Linked DNA regions of Homo sapiens: region 1 is linked to region 2. Evidence: promoter capture Hi-C in 16 types of primary human blood cells and fetal thymus (Javierre and others, 2016). All regions are on one chromosome and are shown on one strand. Each heading gives the region's core, a stretch centred on a gene start or on the middle of the fragment in contact. The rest is flanking DNA. Distances are from core to core; before and after follow the strand shown.

Evidence for each region. Contacts are between HindIII fragments. The CHiCAGO score rates a contact against its expected background, and 5 or more counts as called.
Region 1: a contact is called between a fragment that was not itself captured here and the fragment with the promoter of CALCOCO1 in region 2, in 11 of 17 cell types (naive CD8 T cells, total B cells, naive B cells and 8 more). The highest score is 7.2, in naive CD8 T cells.

The regions. Positions count from the first base shown.
Region 1 is chr12:54,189,318-54,195,765 of GRCh38, reverse strand. It overlaps LOC105369777 (a long non-coding RNA gene), which reads right to left. Exons shown (of 3, transcript XR_944984.2): 2 at 5,232-5,318. Among named protein-coding and RNA genes, the nearest start is that of SMUG1, 3.6 kb to the right of the region's middle. The HindIII fragment of the contact is 8,187 bases long and covers 1-6,448 here.
Region 2 is chr12:53,724,751-53,731,028 of GRCh38, reverse strand. CALCOCO1 (calcium binding and coiled-coil domain 1) reads left to right here and starts at 3,577. Exons shown (of 15, transcript NM_020898.3): 1 at 3,577-3,625; 2 at 5,763-5,942. The coding sequence starts at 5,787. It overlaps LOC105369774 (a long non-coding RNA gene), which reads right to left and starts at 4,450. Exons shown (of 3, transcript XR_944973.3): 1 at 4,380-4,450; 2 at 947-1,093. RefSeq lists enhancers at 3,425-3,484, 4,802-6,001. The HindIII fragment of the contact is 3,607 bases long and covers 1,522-5,128 here.

The DNA of each region.
Region 1 (6,448 bases), core at 1,127-3,626, 470 kb before region 2:
GCCTGTAGAGCAGGGGAGCCAGGGGCTGGGGACTGGCAGAAAGAAAGAGAAGGATGAGGAAGGTTGTGGCAGGGGCTAGGAGAGGAGGGTCAGGGGCTGTGGGGAATGATGGGGGCAGAGGCTGAGAGGATTCTAGGGGAGGAAAACTGGGGAGGGAGGATTGTGCATTTGAACATGAAATTGATCACATGTAAATATAATGCAAATGACATGCAAATAAGCATAGGATTTCTCTGGGTCCACAGCTCAAGCATTCTCTTTCTTGGATTGAGCACTGGGGCCAATTTGCATTCAGTTCTAGGCCTAGTGCCTCGTTTCTTTATTATTCATATTTTCAGAGGGAGAACTCAAATCTTGTTAAGGGAGTGGTGGGGCCAACGTGGGCTGGTCCTCTGGACTTCTTGGAAAAGGGTGAAACATCAGGAAAATCAACATGCTTGAGTGACAGTGAGTGACAGTGAGGGAGCAGAGTGGTAGGACTCCTGGGCTACATGCCTGAATTAATGGGGGTCAAAGAGGCAGAGGCTCAACAGTAAGGTAGAAAGGTGGAGAGAACAGACATATCCCCACAGCTTATCTGATAGACTCAGAGCAGATAAGACAAGGATGCATCATGTGTCCCGTGAAGTAGGCATTGTCATCCTCTCTTCCAGGTGAAGAACGAAATGATTAGCCCAAGGTTCACAGAGGTCATGAGCTTCCTAAGGTCACACTGCTGGCAAGTGGCAGACTCCCAGCTCCAAATGTCCTTGAAAGTTCAGTGCTCTTTTCAACCTGCTATCAGAACATCCTTGAGCTGGACATGGTGGCTCATGCCTGTAATTTCAGCACTTTGGGAAGCTGAGGTGGAAGGATCACTTGAGCTCCGGAGTTTGAGACCAGCCTGGGCAATATAGTGAGACCCCCATCTCCACAGAAAAATTTAAAAATTAGCAGGGTGTGGTGGTGCACATCTGTAGTCCCAGCTACTTGGGAGGCTGAGGTGGGAGGATTGCTTGAGTCTGGGAGGTGAAGGTTGCAGTGAGCTAAGATTGTGCCACTTCCCTCCAGCCTGGGCAACACAGTGAGACTTTGTCTCAAAAAAAAAAGGCTGGGCATGGTGGCTTACTTGCGCCTGTAATCCCAGCACTTTGGGAGGCTGAGGCAGGCAGATCACCTGAGGTCAGGAGTTCAAGACCAGCCTGGCCAACATAGTGAAACCCTGTCTCTTCTAAAAATATAAAAATTAGCCGGGCGTGGTGGCAGGTGCCTGTAATCCCAGCTACTCAGGAGGCTGAGGCAGGAGAATCCCTTGAACCTGGGAGGCGGAGGTTGCAGTGAGCCGACATTGTGCCACTGCACTCCAGCCTGGGTGACAGAGCAAAACTCTGTCTCAAAAAAGAAAAAAAAAAGTATGTCCCTCAAAGTGTTGCTGAGAGGAGTAAAGGAAACAATCCACATAAAGCACTCAGGGTGGTGTCTGGTGTGGACAAAGCACTCACTAACGGTTAGTTATTGTCACTATCACCCTTACCACTATTCTGAAAGATGTGGAATGGAGGACAGAGACAGAGAGAGGGATCACCAGAGAGATGAGAGGGGCAGTATGGGTGGGAAGGAAAGGACAGGTTCAAGAGGGCTGCAGGAGCAAGAGAAGGCAAATGACAGAGCCAGGGCCAGAGGCAAGGAAATTGTCTTTTGGGAACATTGCAGGGGAAGGAGCAGAGCTCAGAAGAATCACCCTAGGTTCAAGTTCCTGCTCTGTGACTGGTTCCCTGGGAGTGCAGGGCAAGGCAGGGCTGGGCCTCGGTGTTGAGTAGGCTGGAAGCTAGGATTCTTGGGTCGTCCTCCCACTTGGTCCCATGGCCACTCTCTCAGACTCATCTTGATCCTCTTCTAGTTGCTCAATTTGGTTCAACCTGTGGGAGATGCTCCTCCCATTCTCCAAGTCTCACTTCCATCCTTCCTGCTAAAGGACTTGGGGATCAGTCCCATTCCCTTGTCTGTCTGTCTATCTGATGTCTGTGTGGTCCCTCAGGATAATTGCTCTGGACAACTCTAACACCACTCAGACAGATTGTCCGGCCTCCTGGCCCTGACATCTCCCACCACTGCATCAAGCCAAATTACTCGGCCCCCCCAAGCCCCGGGCTCTGGTGAAATCCGATTAGTGAGGAGAGAGCTGCACTGAGCTGACAGCTCCTCCGATAATTGCTTCCCAAGTAAGTGATGCAAATCAGCCCATCCAGCCTATTCCTGCTCCTCTCTTGGGGACCCAGGCGTCCAGGCCCCAGGAGATGGAGGACACCAGAGTTGAGGAGACCTAGACGCTGTCATCTTCCTCCAGTTAAGTAGGCATAATCCATAAAGCTAGGTTGTGCTGCCTTGGGGCTGAGGTGTGCGTAGCAGGGTAGCGAGGCTGAGCCAGGGACCCCACTGGCTCTGCATTTCTGTCTTAACTGAGAGGGTGTCACTTTGTCACCTTATTCTCACCCCTTGGAGAATAATCCCATTTCTTGTAAGGTAGATGAAGGCAGAGATATAGAAGATACAGAGACAGCGAGATGGCTGAACCTGTTGAGAAACAAATCAGGCAGGTGCGGTGGCTTACACCCATAATCCCAACATTTTGGGAGGCCGAGGTGGGAAGATCACTTGAGCCCAGCAGTTCAAGACCAGCTTGAGCAACATAGCAAGACCCTGTCTCTACAAAAAAAATTTTTAAATTAGCTGGGTGTGGTGGTGCGCACCTGTAGTCCCAGCTACTGGAGAGGCTGAGGCGGGAGGACTGCTTGAGCCTAGGAGGTCGAGAGTGCAGTGAGTCATGATCATGCCACTGCATTCCAGAGTGAGACCCTGTCTCAAAAAAAAAAAAAAAAAAAAAAAAAGGACACAAATGGATGAACTCACAGCCTAGCTCCTCTGGTTGTGGGCCCTGCAGATAGCTTTCTCTCTTTGTAAGTGCCCCTCCTCACTAGGCTGAGGAAAAGACATGGAGTGTTAAGTCCCCACAGATGGAATGGGGAGGCATGGGGAATCTGATCAAGTCTGGAGACTTTTGCATCTGTGCCAAGGACATGTCCTTGGGATGCAGTGGCCCTTGCTTAACTCACACATCAAGGAGCCCTTTTCCCTTCCCCAAATCAGGGCCCTTTAAAGGGCCTGTTAATGCTTCTTCCTTAATGCATTTCCTTCCTACATCTTTACTTCAGGTTCTTTCTTGCTGTGACCTCCTTATCCCAACTTCTGCTGACCTTGGAGACCTGAAGAGTTACTTTCCTTGCAATCCTGAACTTCCAACTCCAAACCTAACCCTGCATGCAGGTCACTGTCTTTGGGAAATCTACAGGATGAGCTCCCCAGTCTTGTCCTCCGTGCTTGTGTGTCTGATAGGGCTTCATGGACTGGGTCTTGGGTACTCAGACTATCATCTGCCTGAGACCCTGGCAGAGCAACAGCAATAACTACCCTTTGTGGAGCCCAAATTCTGTAATAAGCACTTAATGTAATTAAGTCATTTAAACATCACAAAAGAAGATAGAGATTACAATGATTATCCCATTTTACAACTGAGATAACTGAGGCACAGAGAAATTAAGTAGCATGCCCAAGGTCACCATGAGTAAGTGGCAGAGCTTGGATTCAAACGCAGCAGTCTGATTCCAGAGCCCAAAGTCCTGAGGCCTCTGCTATGCTGTCTTCACTGTCCTATGCTCTTTTGATGTTTGTTGGGCTAATCGGGACAGGACCCAGTGTAGTGGAAGTGGGGAAGGTGGCTACACTGAAAGTTAAACACCAGAACCCCCTTTGGGGCTCCCCATGTCAGAAACAGTGAGTGGGAGCTGAACAGGGTGAAACTTAGTATCTATGAAGGGGGAAACATGGCCTTCACCTTCTCCAATTCCCGACCTTTGTTTTGTGCAGTGGGAGGCCCCGCAGCTAGACAGCCCTTCCCCGTGAGAAGCGGCGAGGCAAGGGAAAGGCTGAAAGATCCGCCTAGCAGCCCAAGTGAGCAGAGTCGGAGCTAGGACCCAAAGAGGCCGATAGATGGCGCTCATGGCCCAACACAGCTCCAGCAGCCCGAGGAAACAAAAAAAAAAAAAAAAAAACAAGTGAGCCGGTTAACCCCTTCCCTCCCGGGCTCAGGACAGAGGGGCTGGCTGGTGGGTATGCCTGGAGCCCTGCCCCAGGACCGGTGACTCAACTCTCTAGGCTCTTACCCAGGCGATAACCTGGGTCATCTTCTGTTCCTGCCCCACAAGGCTCTACCCGTAAATCACAGTCAGCAGCCTCCTGAAGACTTCCCAGAAGACATGAAGACTAATAAATGGAAGAGACTGGTTGGAAGGGCTGCACCCAAGCCCATGTTTCATCTCTTGGGCTCTATCTCTTGAAAGCCTCAGGGTCCCTGTTTCTAAGCACGCCTACTTCAGGAGAGCGCCTCACCTCCATCTTTCCTGGGAGTGACTCACTGGGCGGGGAGGAATAGCATGGACTAGAGAGAGAGAAGGCCCCAGGCCCCTCTGACATTGGCTGTAGGGACTCACTGTGGGCTGCCTAAGCCTCAGTTTCTCCTTATATCTGGACTTCCTATCTCTGGGTTCCCTGGGGTGGATGGGCTTATAGGGACAGAAACAGTTATTCAAGTCTTCTAGGAAATTGAAATCAGGGGTGGGGAGGTGGAGGTCCTGGGGGATCTCTGCTTGCCTGTTACTCATTTCACTCATTATTGTTCTGCCAGAAGCAGACTTTGAATGTGGAGGGGCTGCCAAGATGACAAACTAGAACAGAAGTGCTGGGCAAGCAAGTGACAGAGGGGTCGGGGTGGACAGGAGGGTTGTCCAAGGGATGGTGGAAATCCTGGAATTTTTAAGCAATGAGATGACACCACAATGAGGTCCCTTCACCTTATTTTTGGTCAGAAACACAGAAATACATAGACACACAGAGATGGGGGAACTTGTTCTAGAAGCTCAGATTCTCTTATTCCAGTCATTCTAGGGTAAGAAGCAGAAACAGGGAGATGTTCACAGAGGGAGACAGAGACCTGCAGATACAGAGAGAAAGCTACACAAGAGACTAGAAATAGAGATAAATTTACATAAGTAGAGAGGGGCAAATAACATAGGCAGAGAGAGACACAGAGAGGGAGAGGATCTGGTAAAAATTAAAGCTCAGGAAATTATGGGCTTCATGAGGTGGATGATTAATTCCATTTCCAAAGTCTTGCAAGGGTCAGGGTAGTTTCTCACCCTTGATGTCAGCAGGTCACTGCTCACAGCTCCCTGAAGCTCCTACTGCACCCATTAAGTTTTTGTTGATAGGAGATCAGACAAGTCCTGGGAAGGGAATAGCATCCTTTTTCTCTCACTTCTTCCTGTTCTGGGGTTTATAGGTCTCCTTTTCTACCACTCACAGGGAGACCTTGCTTCTGTGATTAGAGCCTTGGCTGTGCTAAGGTGTGTGGAGATTGTGGGGTGGGAGGAATATAGAAGATAACTAACCTTAGGGGGTTCCCAGTCTAATGAAAGTTTTAGAGTCACGACACAGAACCAGACCCAGATAGAGCACAAGAACAAAACTAGGAATAGGACAGATTTGGACATAGATATTGGGATGGGGGAATGGTGGGGGAATGGACTGTTAGGTGCAGCCATGGGATGAGGATTGATCAGGGAAGCCTTCCTGGACAAAGTATTTGAGGGAGAAGATTTGGATGGAAGAGTGATAGCTAACTTTATGTGTCTACTTGAGTGGTCTAAGGGACACCCAGATAGCTGGTAAAACATTATTTCTGGATATGTCTGTGGAGTGTTTCTGGAAGAGATTTGCATTTGAATTGGTAGACTAAGAAGATCACCCTCATTAATATGGGTGGGAACCATCCAATCCCTTGGGGGCCAGTAGAACAAAAGAGTGGAGGAAGGCAAATTCTCTTTCTTCATGAGCTGGGACATCTATTTTACCTGCCTTTGGACATCATTGGAGTTCCTGGTTCTTCGTCCTTCAGGCTCTGGGACTTAGCAGTGAGCCTCCTCCCCTGCTTTGGACTTTCCTGAATTATACCACCTGTTTTCCTGGTTCTCCAGTGTATAGACAGCAGAGCGGGAGACTGTGGGACTTCTTGGCCTCCACAATCCTGTGAGCCAATTCTTGGAATAAATCTCGTCATATAGATAGATATCCTGTTAGTTCTGTTCTCTGGAAAACTCTTGACTAATACTGAGGTTATAGGGTTGGGCAGATAGCAAGGCAGAGAAAGAAGTCAAAATGGTGACACTCTGGAGATGGGCTTGGACAGTAATGGGGGATGCCCCTTGCTAAAAAGTTGTTAGGAGCTACCAGAAATGTCTTCGTGGATGTTCTGTATAAGTAATGGCAGGCTGCAAAGGAGAAGTCTCTTATACCCACGGTGGCAGGGGGCCTAGCAATGGTCTTTAGCTATTGTTAATACCTTCAGGTGGGTGAG
Region 2 (6,278 bases), core at 2,328-4,827:
AAAAATAGGAAGGAACTTTTTTGGAGGGTTTTATGGGCCAGACTTGAAAATGGAACACATTAATTAAAGGAGAAGCTTAAAAATGTGGTATAGCTAGGCCGGGCGCGGTGACTCTTGCCTGTAATCCCAGCACTTTGGGAGGCCGAAGCGGGCGGATCACGAGGTCAGGAGATCGAGACCATCCTGGCTAACACGGTGAAACCCCGTCTCTACCAAAAATACAAAAAAATTAGCCAGGTGTGGTGACGGGCACCTGTAGTCTCAGCTACTTGGGAGGCTGAGGCAGGAGAACGGCATGAACCTGGGAGGCGGAGCTTGCAGTGAGCTGAGATGGCGCCACTGCACTCCAGCCTGGGCGACAGAGCAAGACTCCGTCTCAAAAAAATAAAAAAATAAAAAATAAAAATAAAAAAATAAAAAAATGTGGTACAGCTGTGTGTCCAAGAAAAAGAAAGAAACAGGTTCTGATAAACACATAGGCTCTGGCTCACTTGACATTCAAAACTCTCTATACTCTGGCTTAAGTCTGTCTTTCCAATTTTATCTTCCATTATCCAATTATCCAACTGTAGCTTCTTTTTGTTGTTGTTGTTGTTGTTGTTGTTGTTTGTTTTGTTTTTTGAGACAGAGTGTCACTCTGTTGCCCAGGCTGGAGAACAGTGGTACCATTCTGGCTCACTGCAACCTCTGCCTCCTGGGTTCAAGCGATTCTCCTGCCTCAGCCTCCCAAGTAGCCGGGATTACAGGCACGCGCCACCATACCTGGCTAATTTTTGTATTTTTGGTAGAGATGGGGTTTCACCAGTTGGCCAGGCTGGTCTTGAACTCCTGACCTCAAGTGATCCGCCCACCTTGGCCTCCCAAAGTGCTGGGATTACAGGAGCAAGCTACCACGCCTGGCCTCCAACTGTAGCTTTTATTCAGCTTTGCTGCAATCACAACCTACCCCAAAATCTAAGCGACTCACAACAACCAGTGCTGGCTTCTGATTTATGTATATGCAGGTTGTGGGTAAGCAGTAGCTCAGCTCCACAGGTCTTCTCATTCCCAGGCCCAGGCAGAAGGAGCAACTCTCATGTGGATTATTCCCATTCTAGTGGCAGAGAAGAACAAGAAAGTGGAAACTCATGTGTTCAAACATGGCATGAGTCACATCTGTTCACATCCCATCAGCCAAATTATGAAACATGACAAAGCCCAAAGTCAATGACATGAGACATCTATTCCTTCTACAGGAGATACTGCAAGTCACATGGCAGTGGGCAGGAATGAGAGAGGAAATAATTTCAAACAATTAGTCCATCCACTACAACTGCCATTTTCCATCTGGAGTACATGGCAGACATTACTACCCAGCACTCTTTCCTCAGAATCCTCAACACAACATTTCAGGCAGACATTACCAATAATCTGAGTTTGCCTAAATACATAAATAAAGGTTGAAATTGATGTGCTATTATGTGACTCTAGGCTCATTATCCATTCCCACCTCCAAATCTTTGCTTTGGCCTAGAAGAAGCTTACCCTCCCCAGTCCCCATCTTGCCAAACTATCCAAATTTAATCTATCCTTCAAATACTTGAATATTTGAAAGTAATGACTATAATTAAAATAATGAATTACATTTATTATTTTAAAATAATGAATTACATATATTATTTTAAAATAATGAATATTTACTATTCATTCTTTCAATAAAAGTAACTGAATACCTAGCATAGTACCTGCCACATATTTGTTGAATGAATCTGTTTCACATTACTTTGTGCCTTGCACTGAGCACATAAATGCTCAGTGAACATTTGTCTCCTGTTAATGAACCAGCACTGTTCCTTAGAACAATGGGAGTTAGTATCACATGCCAGAGTTTCTGGACTGGGAGTATGGTGACTGCTTGTGCTTAAATCTTGATTCTGCCACTCACTAGCTGGATGACTCCAGGCAAGTCATTAATTGTGCCTCAATCTCATCATGTGTAAAATGGGGATAATAACAAGGCGTATTACATAAGCCTGTTGTATTAAATGGGAAAATTCTTAGCATAGTTTGAACAGATCATAAGCACCCAAGAAATGGAAGTTGTTACCATTTTTAGCTCCGAGACTGTTTTCTCGTAGACCTTTATTTTGGGCGGAAGACAAGAGCCAAGAACTCTTGAGACTTGGGTCCTTGAACAGACCTCACTCTTAACCCACTCCAGACCTTGAGCTACCTCCTCATCCAGAAACTGGTTCCCTAACTCATAAATCCTGACTAATGACACAGACACATCACCTTAATGTTTGTGCAGCCCAGTAACTAATTTTTAAGTGCCTGGAGATCTTCAGATGAAAGACACTGAGGGCAGACACCGCATTCAGTCATAAAAGCAAAACACTACCAAAAAACTTGGAAAAGGCAGAAGCTCCATAACTTAGTGCAGTAGAGAATTAAAGCAGGCACCTAGGAAGAGGAAATCAATCCTTAAGACTGTAATCCTTTAATGCAGAGCCAGAGAAAGAGGTAATTCTGAATGCCTCCGACTACAGGGATGGAGAATAGCGAGAGGGGGGACAGGATGCCCAAGTCTATAACGTGACTTGGGGTGTGGGAGACGTGTCAATCTTTCACCTCTCCTAAATAAAAACCGGAACGTCAACATGTATTGTTATCCTAATTAATTTAAGCCACTTAAAAGGCTTGGGCAAACAGGCCCCATAAGTGGCTTGTTTGTGAATTGTGACAGGTCCTGAATTATGCCAAGCTCCCTTTTCAATTTCATTCTTCTCATTCCACCGCTCCTACCACCACCTCAGTCAATTGTATCCTCTTCCTAGACCCAGAAGCCACTCTGGGGGAGCCCAGTCCAGATGTGGATATGGTCAGGCCCCTTAGCACTGAAATCCTCAAGTTGGAAAAAAATGGTCAGCTGTGCAGAAGACATCATTCTTACAAGGTCTGTCCCTGAGATTGAAGTAAAGAAGAAACTGCTATACCCCAGCTATCAGTTTCCCATCCCCAAAATGGTGGGTAGCTGTGGTGTAGTGGCAAGAATATATGACGTGGAATTAGCCAAGGCTAATGCAGTTCTACATTTCATAGCTTTGACACTTCACACCGCCTCCTTAACCGTACTTCACTTTCTACATCTATAAAGCGTGCATAACGCTTAACGCCTATCTCACAGGTGGGTGCGAAAAGTACAGGACGGGACGCAACAGAAACCGCTCTGCCCACCGTTAAAGCGTTATATGGAAGGCTTTAGAGCCGTAAATCCTCCCCAGCCCCCAACAACGCACGTTACAAACCAGCAGCCACCCCTAATGCAGCCGGCCCCCTCCTAAGGGATCATGGGCCTTGAAGTCCTTTGCTGGCCACACCCTCGTTTTCTGTCATAGGAGTGAGAACTACGCCTCCCAGGATGCCGCGGTGAGGCCGCCGTCACGGACGCCCTCTTCCCCGCCCTCCTTGCGCGCAGCCTTCTGGGATGTATAGTCCTAGATCCGAGCACGCAGCGGCAAAAGGGCGCAGAAGAACCACAAACCCCAGAAGCCCTCGCGCCCACTCTTCTCCCTCCCCTCCAGAAGTCGGAGTGCTGTTTTTGTTGTTGGTGAAAGGTGAGGGGAACAGCTGATCCGTCTGTTGGGTAAGAAACTTGGCCTAATTGGGGGCGATCTTATGGGAGGGGAGGGTCACCCCACTTTCCAGTTTGGGGAAGGATAACGTAAGGGAACTGTCGAAGGGGAATACAGGAGCGTTTGGGTTGTAACCCTTTCCGTACTGGAGAAGCCACCCCCGCTGTTTGGGGAGTTCTTGGTTTCAAGGGGACTCTGATTGGGGGTGGGGGGCGCCCCCTCGTCGTCCTCTCCTTCTTCTCAATGCGTCTCTATAAAGCTGATCCCTTCAAGGGAGCTGAAATCTGCTTATTCGCTCCCAGGCAAGACGTGTCCCCTACACGTCTTCCCTCTCTCCCCTACGCAAATCCAAAGGCCTTTACGACGCTGAATCCCTGGGGAGGAAGGGGGACCTTCCAAGGTGTAGAATGTCAAGGAACTCTAGAGCCCTACAGAGTAGGGGATGGGACACCCGCTCTCCGCCCCATCATGTGAACATCTGAATCAGGCTACACACCTACATCTTAGGTGCCCAAAACTTTCTTTCGGACATGAAGAACGTTTACAGCTGTTACGGATTTTCTTTGTGGGGTGTATTTTAGGGTTCTCCAGGTATATCTTTGGGGACAATTTACCCCCACCCTTAGAAAGCTGGAAGAATTGCATTTGGAGAAAACATGGATTAGTTTCAACCAGGAATTTTTCAGGGAGATGAACATTAAAAAAAACTTTTTGTTCTACCTATTTGGGGGACAGAAGTTGCTCCTTTTTGTGTTGCTGGCTCACCTTTATCCACTGAGTTTCTGTTTTCTTTTAAAGTTCCTGTCCCCTGGACTTCAGCCTGGTGTGGGTTTGTGATGTTTGGGGGCGTGCATATGACTAGTGACAATGGCTGGTTGGACATGTCAGCTGTGAGTGACACAGGAAATAGATTAGTGGGCTGGAAAGGAGTGATGAATAAGAGGGCCATCTCACAGCCCTGGACTGAGGAGTTCTTTTGATCGTTATTATTGTTATCTGTCCTCACCCCACCCTCATATTTTCCAATTAACTCTCCCCAGCTAACTTGGAACACCCCTTCCTCTCAACCCCATCCTGTAGTGTGTCTCCAGCTACCAATACAAACAGATGGAAGGATGGAGGCTGAGGGGAGCAGAGAGAAAATGAGGAGAGAAATACTAAAGTGAAACCAGTAGGTTTCTAGTCCTGCTGCAGGCACAGTCTGGAGAGAAGAATGTTAGGTTCTTTTTGAACTATCTCCCCTTTCCTCAACGTTAAATATACATTTCCACTTCTTGGGGCCCCTTACTTCCCACTTTCTAGTCTGTTCCCTGCCCTGGGGTGGGGCTTTCCTGGCTCCAGGCCCCCACATTCCATCTCCCCACCCCCACCACGTTCCTGCTAAGCGCCTCACTCCACCCTTGAAGTTGCCGCCTCCAGAATTCTTGACTTCCTGGAATAATAAGTCAAGGGACAGAACCTGTCTTTCCTTATATCCTCCCCTTCCCTTTGTCTCTTGGATGCCAGCAGAAGCTTTCTGCTTCCCTAGAATTCATGGGGGTAGGCAGCTCAGAGAGATGAAAAGAGCTGAGAGCTCAGGAGCCTAAGGATTTGGGCTCAGTTCCCCTCGACCCCCAGCCATATTCTAGCTCTGAAAACTCAACCATTCCTTTCAGAGATTAGTTGCTGCTTTCTGATGTCATAACTCATTCCTGGATACAGCTGGGTCAACAAGCTTAGGAGTAGGTAAGGACACCTCTCTCAATGAGAGGGCCCCACACCTCAGTTGGATTTTGTATTCAAGAGCCAGGATGTGTGGGAGATGGGATGGAGAAATGGAGGCTGTCGACCAAGTCGCAGTATCCCAGGCTCTGTCCCCGTCAGTGTCCTTTTGGGAGCAAAATTAGAGAAGTCTGAACCCTCAGAAGGGTCTATGAGCCAGAGCGGGTACAGTGTGAGACAGGATGGGGACGGACTTGGAAGGCCAGACCTACGTCCTAGAGACTAAGAGTGATACCTCAAAAATGTCCCGTAACCCTCAGGGACTAGAAACCAGGTATGCCTTATCTCCAGGTGTAGTGGCAGGGGCTGTGAGTGTGTGGTGCTGGAGCTGTGGGGGGAAGGAGGTGGACTGGAAAGACTTTAGGCTATCAACCCTTTCTTTCATAGGAGGACAGATATCTCAAGGCCAGGATGGAAGAATCACCACTAAGCCGGGCACCATCCCGTGGTGGAGTCAACTTTCTCAATGTAGCCCGGACCTACATCCCCAACACCAAGGTGGAATGTCACTACACCCTTCCCCCAGGCACCATGCCCAGTGCCAGTGACTGGATTGGCATCTTCAAGGTATCTCTGGAACCCCTTTTGGCTTAGGTTTATGGGCTGTGAGTTGGTTGGAATAAGGGGAATGATTGGGCTCTTGGATTCTCAACCTCAGGTTGATAGAGAAGAAGAGAGAAAGATGTCACAGATGACAGAGGCCGCCTGTATAACCAAAGCACATATTTTCTCCATCTTAGCCTTGTTCTTTACTGACACATTAGTGTCCCTCCACTTTCCCTTTCTCTTGTCATTGTTGCCACTGTAGCTCCATCCTGCCCCCCTTATTCAACCCCTCAGCCCTTTCTTCCATCCATAGAAGGTAGTTCCATGACCATACCTTTCTCCAACCTTGGGCTTTCA